3 separate regions of the Homo sapiens genome follow, and regions 1 and 2 are each linked to region 3. The links are contacts of gene promoters, found by promoter capture Hi-C in human tissues and cell types (Jung and others, 2019). All regions are on one chromosome and are shown on one strand. The core of a region is centred on a gene start or on the middle of the fragment in contact, and the rest is flanking DNA. Distances in the headings are between cores, read along the strand shown.

Evidence for each region. Contacts are between HindIII fragments. The study calls those that stand out against the background at their distance.
Region 1: a contact is called between a fragment that was not itself captured here and the fragment with the promoter of SETMAR in region 3, in 1 of the 25 tissues and cell types used here (dorsolateral prefrontal cortex).
Region 2: a contact is called between a fragment that was not itself captured here and the fragment with the promoter of SETMAR in region 3, in 1 of the 25 tissues and cell types used here (dorsolateral prefrontal cortex).

What each region holds. Positions count from the first base shown.
Region 1 is chr3:3,220,203-3,224,373 of GRCh38, forward strand. No RefSeq gene overlaps it. Among named protein-coding and RNA genes, the nearest start is that of CRBN, 43 kb to the left of the region's middle. The HindIII fragment of the contact is 4,948 bases long and covers 1-4,171 here.
Region 2 is chr3:3,236,858-3,240,721 of GRCh38, forward strand. No RefSeq gene overlaps it. Among named protein-coding and RNA genes, the nearest start is that of CRBN, 59 kb to the left of the region's middle. The HindIII fragment of the contact is 3,395 bases long and covers 872-3,864 here.
Region 3 is chr3:4,300,507-4,304,966 of GRCh38, forward strand. It overlaps SETMAR (SET and mariner transposase domain methyltransferase), which reads left to right and starts at 2,863. Exons shown (of 3, transcript NM_006515.4): 1 at 2,863-3,020. The coding sequence starts at 2,865. It also overlaps a transcript of SUMF1 not described here. RefSeq lists enhancers at 2,460-3,202, 3,231-3,300 and a silencer at 2,801-3,140. The HindIII fragment of the contact is 5,892 bases long and covers 990-4,460 here.

The sequences.
Region 1 (4,171 bases), core at 1,223-3,722, 1.1 Mb before region 3:
ACTGGTGTATTAGTCTGTTCTCACCCTGCTATAAAGATACTACCCAAGAATGGATAATTTATAAACAAAAGAGGTTTAATTGACTTACAGTTCTGCATGGCTGGAGAGGTCTCAGGAAACTTACAGTCATGGCAGAAGGCGAAGAGGAAGCAAGGACTTTCTTCACGTGGTGGCAGAAGACAGCATGTGTGGAAAGCAAAGGGGGAAGAGCCCCTTAAAACCATCAGATCTTGTGAGAACTCACTCACTATCACAAGAACGGCAGTGGGGATCCATGATCCAATCACCTCCCATCAGGTCTCTCCCTCAACAATATATGATTACATTTCAAGATGGGGGATTACATTTCAAGATGGAGGATTACAATTCAAGATGAAATTTGGGTGGGGAAACAAAGCCTAACCATATCAACTAAGATGCCGTGTACTCCTAATCTCGCCCTTACTACTTCTCCTGTTCACTCCACTCCTGCCACAGTAGCCTTCATGGTATTTCTGAGAAATACTTGATGCACTCACACCTCAGAGCCTTTGCACTTCTGGCCCCCATGCTTGTACCTCTGTTTCCCAGGAGCATTTACTTCTTTTTTTCCTTGTGATCTTTGCTCAAGACTGCCCTTATCAGAGAGAACTTCTCTGACCCCATTATATAAAATAAGTTCTCCCCATTCCAATCACATCTCCATTCCATGACTGTGTTCTGCTTATTTTTGTCAGAGCATTTGTAACCCCTGACATGTTGTATATTTATTGTTTGTTTCTGTAAAGGAATGACAGTGGGGACTTGGTTTTGTAAACTCCTTTACCCACCTTTTTTGGAACATGGTAGATGCTTAGTATCTATCTGTTGTAAAAATGAATATATGAATGCATACAATTGATATAGGGATTAATTCAAACCACATAATGTCTGTAAAATGCATAGTGCTAGACTATGGACATAGTAGATGTAACTCTACTTATTATTGCAAGCTATGTGTAGGCTGTGCCTTACCTCCATTCATGATCATTCACAAAGCAGAGGCCAATCTGGGAGAATTTGGGAGTAAGGCTTGACCTTTCTTATCAGGACCTCTCCAGTGGCTTGTTTAGACAGTAAGTAATGAAAATATCAGGTAGAGACACACCTGAAAGAGGATTACTGAATTCTAACAGGATGGCTGAAAATAGACAAAAATCCCCCAAATCTATCCTTTAGAGATAACAGGCAGCAACCACTACAGAGCACAGGTGAGGAAAGAGCCAGAATTGTGAACAAGCTTCACAGTGAGAATGATTTCCACAGACTGAGGCTGGGGCTGACTGCAGGCCAGGGGTGGTGGTGGTGGTCATCATCATTTAGAATCTGTGAGCTTCAGAAAGGCTTCTCCTTCTCCCCTTCATCCCCATCAACAGTAAAATTCCAGTGGTCCTAGTTGTAATATATTCTGAGATTTCATCAGAGCAGCACACAGAAATAGCAAGGGGCAAAGTGGCGATCTCATCAGAGAATCTATTATATATACCCTCACACAGACAGCCTATTGCACATTCTTTGATGACCACACAGGGATATTGTTTACACAGAGCTGCTTTATTCTAGCAGAGATCCCCCTGAAGAGCTGCAGGAGCCATTTACAGGCTGACAGCAGCAACCACTAAGGCGAAAATCATAGCCACCTCTAATCTGCTTCCTACTCTCTCCCACTTGGTCCTTCCTTCCCTGGCTTTCTCTGGGTGGCTGCTTTTGCATGCATTTGTGTTACCACCTGCATTTGCCTCTCCTTTCTCAGACTCCCTTCTTCTCCCCTCATTTCACTTTTCCTTCTCTCTGCCTCTTTCATCACCTAGTATTTACCCAGTACCTAATGCTTGTTAGATGCTGAGGTTGCCCATGTGGCTATGATGAAGATGGCAGGAGCCTGCTTCCTGTCCTCATGGAGCTGATGGTCAGTTGCTGAGTGTGTGTCTTCCAGGGAACCGAAGAGGAGGCAGGAGAGCTGAACTGTGATTTTCAGGGGAGGTGGGGAGTTAGGGAGCTATCTGGAGAGGCATTTGAAGGATGAATTTGGATTTGAAGACATGAGATGGGCAGAGCCTTTGAACAGGAAAGGCTAAAAACCCACAAAAGCCTGAAGCTGGGTAACTGCCAGAGAATAGAGAGCAGCTAAGTGTAACTTCACAGTAGCTGTCTGGTATACCTACTGTATGTCAGGCATGTGCTTAGGCACGTGACATAGAAAATCTCATTTAATCCTTGTTTAAGACTATGATGAGTAATTCTCCTTTACAGATGGAGAAATGGAGGCTGAAATAAATTGTGTAACCTTATCCCACAACTAGTTAGTGGTCGAATTAGAATTTAAACACAGATTCTTAACCACTAGGTTTTACTACCTCTTGAGGGGAATAGCAAGAAATCTGTTTACAGCAAAGAAGTGACAGCCAGATAGTGAAGGGTCTTGGATGCCGGTGGAGTTCCCAGTTTCCTCAGTAAGTGATGGTTATGGGTGGAGTGGGGCTCTGAAAATGTTGAAGCAAGGCATGAATACATGGTTTCATTTAATCTTTGTCTTACCTGAGTATAAATAGGCAAACACACACAAATTAAACTCCCTCACCAAGGTTAACTTTCTCCTGTCCTTTGCATCATCCTACACATCACTGATGATGAAGATAGTTCTGTCTGAGCTGTTTCGTGTCTTTCTATTTCACATCTCCTTCCTAGTGTCTTGATTACTGTTCGATACTGTGACAAGGGCGTTTTAATACAGCTAATTATAACAAGGTTCTAAAAATCCATATTTAATCCATATTGGCTGTTGCAGATCCTGTGGTGCTGGTTTGTTTTCTTTCTAGTGCATTATTTAGCAATGAAGAAATTTTCTGGCTCAGAAATTGTGGGCTCATTATCATTTTCATAGTTATATGGTAAACATATTCCCAAATTGCGATGTTAAATTTTCTAAGAGTCCCCAGGAATTTCATTTTCTTTAAAAATTTGCTTATTACTCATTCATTAAATAGATTATCCTGAAGTAGATAATACCATCTCTCGTGAATGCAAGTTTCATTACCTTTCCTTGAGGTTAATAGATGAAGGTCAGATATAAACATGCCAAAGAGCTTTTAACTCTCTTGGTTACTGGCTGTATTTTAAAATATTCCACTCAAGTTTTGATTTGGGACTTGACCTCTGAGATCTTCAGTGTAGCCCCCAAGGTAGAATGCTAAGTAAATGATCAGTCTGTCTTCAGGGAATTGGGACTTACTGTCAACAGTTTCACACATTCTAAAGATTTCTTTACTTGGGAAGAGGAAGAAGGTACTAGTTTGTTCTTATCATGATCAAAGAGGCAAATGTTTCCATTTAAGCTTAAATCAGGTTAAGATAGCATGAAGCCTCCTCATGATGAGCATATAAAAGGAGGAGGGAAGGAAGTTGAAAATAAGTAAATATATCCAGGATAATTCTTAAGCTCTAAATGTAAGAGAGATACTTGTGTTGCCTTTCCTTCTTTTCATTTCTGGCAGGTCCCCAAATTCTCTGGGTTTAAGGTCATGAGACTGCAAATAAACAGTCTGACAATTATATATACAGTAGTCTAGGGGGAAAATCTTCTGGTTTTAAGATTTGTGGTGTGCACTTCCCCAACATTGGTGGAATATCCCTGATGACACACCACCTTGGTAGGTGAAGCATATCTATTTTCTGCATTAATTCATGTATTGATTCATATTCTTCATCCCTACTACAAGATAACTGGGATGGTTAATTTTGCATGTTGACTAGACTGGGCGACAAGATGCCCAGATAGCTGGTCAGACATAATTTCTTGATGTGTCTGTGAGGGTGCTTCTAGAAGAGATTGGCATTTGAACAGTGGACTCAGTAGCTAGCCCTCCCCTATGTGGGCAGCCTCATCCAATCTGTTGGGGGCCTAAATAGAACAAATACATGGAGGAATGGAGGACTCATTTATTCTCTCTTACTGTTAGAGGGATATCGATCTTTTCCTGCTGTCAACACTCCTGGTTCTCAGGTCTTCAGATTGAACTTGAACTTACACCATCAGCTCTCCAATTCTCAAGTCTTCAGACTCAGGACTGGAACTATACCACTGGCTTTCCTCAGCTTACAGCTTGCAGACAGCAGCTCTTGGGATTTCTTAGCCTCCATAATCACATGAGCC
Region 2 (3,864 bases), core at 1,319-3,818, 1.1 Mb before region 3:
GTTTTGTGATAAGGAAATATACTAGAAAACTCATCTCGATCATTTCAATCACTGGACTCAGCCTGTGCTTTGAGGCCAATTTTCAGTCCTCTAGTGTCTTTCTGGTTTTAATTAGCTATATAAAGCAAAAAGGCAAAATATTTTCCTTTATGTGAAAAGTATTGCTGGATATTCCTTTTACTTGTTTGAAAAGATAAATTTGATATCTCTCGGATATTACATTATTTCCAGTGCACCGAAGAATAGTTCTCTTTGCATTGAACATGGGTCTATTCACTGGTCTCCTCATCTAGCCTGGGACATTGTACAGTAGTTCTGAGCTCTTTTAGGAAACAGTATGCCCAGTGTCCAAGGCTCTGCAAACCAACCCAGACTAAGTCATTGATGCCAGATGCATCGAAGGTCATCTAAAGACCCTTGCTTTCTTCCTCATGGGCCTTTAGCAAACTATAATGTGAAAGCTTGTCTTAGTTGCTTCTGTATCCCCTTTTAGTCACTTCTACCCTCTTAGCCTCTCCTCTGCTTTCCTTTCCAACTGGATTATTACAACAGACAGAAAATGTGACAGATTGACAGATACTGGTTTGGGGGAGTTTACTATTTTTTTTTCTTGAGCATCAGCTGATATTTTCTATGCTTCCTTGAGTTGGGGAGTGGGCAGCATGTGACCAAGGAATGGACAATGGGATGTGGGCAGAATTTCCCAGCCTTTCTTAATTTCCTAATTTCCCAGCCTTTCCCAGGCACACAACAATTGACCATTTCTTCTTCTTATTTTTTAAATTTACGTTATCCTGAAACACCAAATAATTGACTATTTCCAATTGGTACTAGGCTACAAAGAAATAAAGAATCAAGTTTATGGGAATAGCCTCAAAATAAGACAGAAAGCTCTGAGTTAGAACTCTCCTATGAACAGACTCCATGAACCTTCATGTGGTTATTATGGCATATATTTGGCATAAACTGTGGTAGTCTGAATAATGTTTCTCCCACAAAGATGTCCACATTCTAATCCCCAGAACCTGTGAATATGTGGGCTTGCATGACAAAAGGAATGACCTGTGAATCCCCATGACCTGTGAATATGTGGGCTTTGCAAATGTGATTAAGTTAAGAATGTTGAGGTTAGTCCTAATTATCTGGGTAAGACCAATGTAATCACAAGAATCCTTACAAGACAGGGATCCCCACCCCCTGGGCCACAGAGAGCTACTGCTCCGTGGCCTGTTAGGAACTGGGCCACACAGCAGGAGGTGAGTGGCACACAACTGAGTGAAGCTTCATCTGTATTTACAGCCACTCCTCATTGCTCACATTACCATCTAAACTCTGTCTCCTGTCAGATCAGCAGTGGCATTAGATTCTCACAGGAGCACAAACTCTACTGTAAACTGTGCAAGTAAGCGATCTAGGTTGCATGCTCCTCATAAAAATCTAATGCCTGATCTGTCACTGTCTTCCATCACCCCCAGATGGGATCATCTAGTTGCAGGAAAAGCAGCTCAGGGCTGCCACTGATTCTAAATTATAGTGAGTTATATAATTAGTTCATTATATATTACAATGTAATAATAATAGAAATAAAGGGCACAATAAATGTAATGTGCTTCAATCATCCTGAAATCATTGCCTCAACCCCAGTCCATGGAAAAATTGTTTTCCATGAAACTGGTCCCTTGTTCTCAAAAGGTTGGGGACTGCTGTTATAAGAGAAAGACAGAGGGATAGAAGAGGAATATCAGGGTGATACAGTAGAAAACTTGACCATCCATTTATTGCTGGTTTTGAAGCTCAAAGAAGGGGTCACTCTAGAAGCTTGAAAAGGCAAGGAAATGGATTTTCCCATAGAGCTTCTGTAAAGAATGCAAGCCTGCCAACACCTTGATAGTAGCCTAGTGAAACTAATTTCTGATCTATAGAACAGTAGGGTAGTAAATTCATGTTGTTTTGAGCCATCATATGTGTGGTAATTTGTTATAGCAGAGGCAGGAAAGTAATACATAGACCATTTTCTTCCCTGACTCTCTTTTATATTCTCCTTTATATTGCTAAGGCACTTTGCATAAATGAGATTGTCCTGTGAATAATAATAACAATAGATAATGTGTACTAAGTGCTAACTGTGGGCAGGCTATTATATCTATCATTTTCCAGTGGTTATATAATTTATTCTTCAAAATAGGTTCATGAGATAGAAGATTATTTATTTCATCTCTAATTCTTAGAAAGATTAAGTAACTTGTCCAAGGTCACAGAGCTTAAGATTGATACACAAAAAGCAGCTGGACACCACAGACATTCTTTTAACTGCATACAGCATATGTATGTAGGTGTTGAAGCAGGATAGCAAGTCAAAAAAGTGGTGACCATAATCTTGGGATGTGGCAACCCTACAGTCAACACAATAAGCTTCAGCATTCGCATTGTACTCAAGCTCAGTCAAGCAAAGCTATCTTCAGTGGGAAACTTCCCCTGTAGAGAGCAAGCACGTTTTGATTTGTCCGGTCCTCACACTGACCCTTTGCTCATTATAATAGTAAAAAACACACCCTGGGTGGAGATTTAAGATACTGATGAGACATGTGACATATGAACAAGTATGTACAGCTACTGCGCATGTGCACTCAGAGGATCACCCAGAACATGCTTACTAGTAACACCTCTTCCCAACCACCTATGAATCATCATGTAAGACTCCCACAAAGGGGGTCTCCCTAGTGCCTGTCTTTGCTGTCTCATCCTTAGGAGCAGCGTGCCCCGAATCCTCTCTCAGGTTGTAATGTCTATTCTGCACCGAACTTTCAGAGCATTCTTTCTCCTTTGCAATAAACTGCTCTATGCTGCATCTCCTTAACTGTGTGTCTCTTGCTTAAATTCTTTTAAACTAAGAAGGCAAGAACCTAGGTATCACAACAGCTGTCAACAGTTTCTACATGTGGGGGTAGAGATGGATATACTCACATACATCATGAACTATGCTCCAGAAACCCTGATCAAACTTGATGTAGAAAACTTTTAGCATAAATAAAATAATAGTAAAACACTACTTTGAAACACTGCGTTTAGAATATGCATTCACACTTTCTCAGGCCAAAAAGTTACATTTCATACTCATGTGCAGCTAGCTATAACTTAAAAATGGACCAATAAATCAGGTCAGGTTGAAGCAGTTTAATCCAAGGAGCTTAGTTTCCATCATCAGGTCTGCATTATGTAAAGTAAGTGCAGTAAAGAAATACTTTTAATATATGTTTCTCTTGTTGTAGTATAATAGGTTGTAATGGATGGAAATTAGGTACTTAAATTTTTGAATGCAACTTATTAGGTCATTTTCAATAACTTTATTCAAGGAACTTAAAACTTACTCAACTTGAAAATCATTGAGACTGTGGAGCTATTCTAAAGGACCACAGGAATGTTTACATTTCTATAATAGAGACGCCTGCTGTTACTGTTCAGAAGAAGGTGGAAGGGGGCTTCTGTTTTCTGGTGTTTAATACTGTGCTCACTTCATGCAGGACATTTAAAGACTAAAGGGGGAAAGCCCAACTTACTGCGTGTGTGCTTTGGGGACTTCCCTCCTCAGAATGTGAGCTTTCTCATTTATCAAAGAAGGCAACGGCTGGGTGTGGTGGCTCACGCCTGTAATCCCAGCACTTTGGGAGGCTGAGGTGGGTGGATCACGAAGTCAAGAGATCGAGACCATCCTGGTCAACGTGGTGAAACCCCATTTCTACTAAAAATACAAAAATTAGCTGGGCGTGCTGGCACGGGCCTGTAGTCCCAGCTACTTGGGAGGCTGAGGCAGGAGAATCACTTGAACCTGGGAAGCAGAGGTTGCAGTACACTGCACTCCAGCCT
Region 3 (4,460 bases), core at 1,613-4,112:
CATGAATAGCACATTTATAAGGCTGATCTTTAATTTCTGTTCTCAAACCTATTAATGCCAGGTATAACTGTTATTATAATTTTATGAAAAAAGGATGATGAACTATGAGTGCAAAGAGTTTCTCCCTTCTGGGATAACTAAGTAGAACATTCTGTAAAGACTTGGAGAAAAAAAAGCAAGTCACTAAAAAATGTTTTGCCCTTGAAGTGGGTGTGAGTGAGAAAAGTATAAAAGACTAGGGAAAGAAAACAGATCATGATATCCCATTGCTTCACTATCCTTTAGTTCCCACCCCACTTTAAAGACACCAAAACTGGAACTCAGAGTAAGCTTGACCTGGAGCTCTAATCAGTAGAAAACAAACATACAGAGACACACACACACACACACTCTAGCTCTCCTTCTCTTTTGGCCCTACATCAAAAGACTAGCATATAAATGTACCAAAATCATTTAAGTTAAAACAAAATGTTTCTCTATCTATCTATCTCCCCACCCTCCACCAATATATATATATATAATTTTTATGAGTTCAATAAGATGGTTTTGCCTGTGCTTACATTAAATAGTTGCAGGGAACATAAGAAATGGCTTATAAAGTAGGAGAACTAATGTAAAGAGGGTAACCAATGCTAAGGGAAACAGGGTAAAGAAAGATACAGAGAAGGGACTACTTGAGCTGAGCAGACAGACAGTCCTGGGTAAAGGCACTGGAGATACAAGAACAATGTGGACAAAGGCCCAGAGGCCCAAGTAGAATGGCTTTTTGAGGGAATGTCAACAGAACAAGGGGTTCCAACAGAGAACAGCAGCAAAAGAGACCAAGGAAATAGGTAAAGTCTGGGTCCTCAAAGGCTCATAAGACAGAATATAGAAGGTAAACTTTGAGAGAAAATGGAGCAAATAAGAATCTAAGCAGCAAAATATAATAACTGGACAAGGATCTTCAAAGGTCATTGTAGCAGCGGCAGTAAGGGTGATTTGGGGATATGGAGAATGACAGACTTAAAGCAAAGAACTTCCAAAGTCCAAGCAAGAAATGAGAGAGCCTAGGACTAAGTGAGAAGAGGCAAAAATGAGAACATGAAGGCAGAATCAACAAGACTTACCCACCACGTCCTTAGCTATATGAGTCTAGTGAAGTGAAGGAATACAGAGTAACTGGTTTGTTGCTTTAGTGGCTCTGTAGATCACAAATTATTTTCCCAGTTAACTTTAAAGAAGAAAAAGCAAGACTGGCAGAAGAAGTCAATTCAGATTATTTTGAGTTTGAGGAGCCTGTAGGACAGAAAACAGAAATGCTCAATCATTAGCTGAATATGCGTAACTGGATTTGAGGAGAAACGTCTGATCTGGGTTGGAGACTGGTGACCTAATCCTTTATATTTGAAGCCATGGGAGTGGATGTTATTAATGAGAAAGTTCAGGGAAGGGGAGCAAAGAAAAAGGTCAAGGGCAGAACCCTGAATCACACCCACTTTTCAGAAACAGTCAGGCAGGAAAACAACAAGAGGATACTAACAAGGAAAGGTCTGCAAGATGGAAACACATTTAGGCCAATGGGACCTCAGAAGCTGCAAGGTCAGAAGGGTTTGTGAACCCAAAATTATCTGAGACAGGTCTCAATTTAGAAAGTTTATTTTCCCAAGCTTAAGAATGCGCCCCCAACATAGCCTCAGGCAGTCCTGATGACATGTGCCCAAGGTGGTTGGGATACAGCTTACTCTCACACATTTTAGGGAGACATAATACATCAATCAATACATGTAAGATTGGTTGGATCTGGAAAGGCAGACAACGAGAAGCGGGTGAGGGGTGGCTTCCAGGTCATAGGTAGATTTAAAGATTTTCTGATTGGCAACTGGTTATTATCTAAAGACCTAAAATCAATAGAAACGAATGTCTGGGTTGCAATAAGAGGTTGTGGATACCAAATTTGATCGTGGAGATGAAGCCTCCAAGAGGTAAATTTCAGAGAACAGATTGTAAATGTTTCTTATCAGACTTAAGGTGTGTGTTGATGTTGATGCTGGCTGGCTTTTCCTGAATTCCAAAAGGAAGAAGGGCATAATGAGGCATGTTGGACCCCCCTTCCCATCATGGCCTGAACCACTTTCTCAGGTTAACCTTGGCAGAGAGGAGGGGTCCCTTCAGATGGTTTGGAGGATTGGAATTTTATTTTTGGTTTACAGTTTCAAGGAGAAGCAGGACAATCATGTCAGAGAGCTTCAGTGAGGTTGAAAATGCTCCACCGGATTCAGCAGTCTTGAGGCTATCAGAATCCTTTGGCAGGGCAGGGGTTTGGAGGGGTGAGGGTAGAGGGATGGAGAGGAGGGAAAAGGACAGGCAAAGGGGCACGGATACCTCCATCAGGGAGTGAGCATGCCCCCACACAAATTCCTTAAGGCACCCTGTGAGGCTATCGCCTTGGCACAAACCCTATCACATGTCAGTCAACTTCCCGGCAAGCCGCAGACCTTTAGAAACCTTGGTGTGCGTTTCCCCGCTCGGTTTAGAACGCACCCCTGCCTCCACTCCACAAACGTGCAGTGAGCCCTCAAAAACCTGGACAAATGACCTCACCTCGAAAGCCCCCTCTCTGATGCTCCCAGGAAAAACTAAAGCACCTCACTTTGTTTCGTCCGTACCTTACATGGTTTTGTAATTATCTGTGGTGCCTCTGGCTGAAATCAAAACGGGAGCCAGACCCAAAAAGTCAAGGAAGGGAAGCGCCTTCCAGGCCACTCCTGAGAAGAAACGAACTACAATTCCCATGAGGCGGTGGGGCCACGGGACCACAAGTCCCAGCATCCACCGCGCGGCCCAGGACTGTCAGGGTAGTGGGCGTTGCGTGAGGCGGGTAAATGTTCGCGGAAGCGGCAAAGACGACACGGCCTTGTGGGATGGCGGAGTTTAAGGAGAAGCCTGAGGCCCCGACTGAGCAGCTGGATGTCGCGTGCGGCCAGGAAAACTTGCCGGTGGGCGCGTGGCCCCCGGGGGCCGCGCCGGCGCCCTTCCAGGTAGGGGCGGGGCCAGGCGGCGCGGGAGGCGGGCGCGCGGCTCCCCCACGTGGTCTCCTCAAGCCGCCTCGCTGGGACGGCCTCCCAGTCGCGACCTTTTGTCTTCTCTTACAGCGCACCCGTTGGTGCGCGGGAATAGGTGTGCATGCCCCGGCCTGGGCCTTTTTCTGTTGACCCACGGCATCACCTTAGCAAGGGTGTTGTCCTTTTCAGTCCATTCCCTGAAGCGCAGAACCGGAGGCCTTGTGAGAACCTGGCTTTTTGTCCAGTCCTGTCCTCAGAACTCAAGGAGGCATCACGGGGGGAGTCATTTACCTCCCTGGTCTCAGGTGTCTCTCACAGGTAGGATAAGCCGTGGGGCCTATTAATGGATCGCAGCCGGTGTCGTGCATAAAAACAGCCCCTCGAGTCAGCCTTAGCTGTGGTCTCCCTCACGCTGTGGGCTCTTGGGCGAGTGTAAATTAGCTGTGGCTCAGCCTTAGAGTCTTCCAGCGTACAGTGGAACAGTACCTCTCTTCCGGAGTGCTTTGAAAATGGCAAGGAAAATACACTTTCCGGTTTGCTGTAAGAACTCAGTAAATGTTTGCTTCTATTAACTACCTCAAAGCCCTTTCTACTCTCCTTTTTCTTTTTGAGACTGAGTCTCGCTCTGTCGCCCAGGCTGGAGTGCACTGGCGCGATCTCGGCCCACCGCAACCTCCACCTCCCGGGTTCAAGCGATTCTCCTGCCTCAGCCTCCCGAGTAGCTGGGATTACAGGCATGGGCCACCACGCCCGGCTAATTTTTGTATTTTTAGTAGAGACAGGGTTTCTCCATGTTGGTCAGGCTGGTCTCGAACTCCCAACCTCAGGTGATCCGCCCGCCTCGGCCTCCCAAAATGCTGGGATTACAGGCATGAGCCACGCTCCCAGCCTCTACTGACTTTCTTATCCCTCCGACCTTGGCCTGAGCGTTACCCAAGGAATAAGGAATGACCAAAGATTTTGAAGTGGAAAGAGCGCTGGACGTGGAAGTTGGAGAGTATGGTTCGGAGCTTAGACATCTTAGCTACTTCCCAGAGCCTGAGTTTCTTCATCTGCAAAATGAAAATAATAATTTAAAAATGCATAGCCCCTTTAACATCCATTATCAACAATGAACCCTATCTGCCCTTTCTTTTTCCTAGGGGTTTTTGTGAGGATCAGATAAGATAAGAGATTCAATAGCAGCTTTCAAAGATGTCAAGGAAAAGAATCAAACTCTAAAATATTTGAAGAGATTTATTCTGAGCCAAATATGAGTGACCATGGCCTGTGACACAGCCCTCAGGAGATGCTGAGAACATGTGTCCCAGGTGGTTAGGGCACAGCCTGGTTTTATACATGTTTGGGAGAGAGGAGACGTCAATCAAATACATTTAACATGTACATGGGTTTGGTTCAGAAGGCGGGGCAACTCAA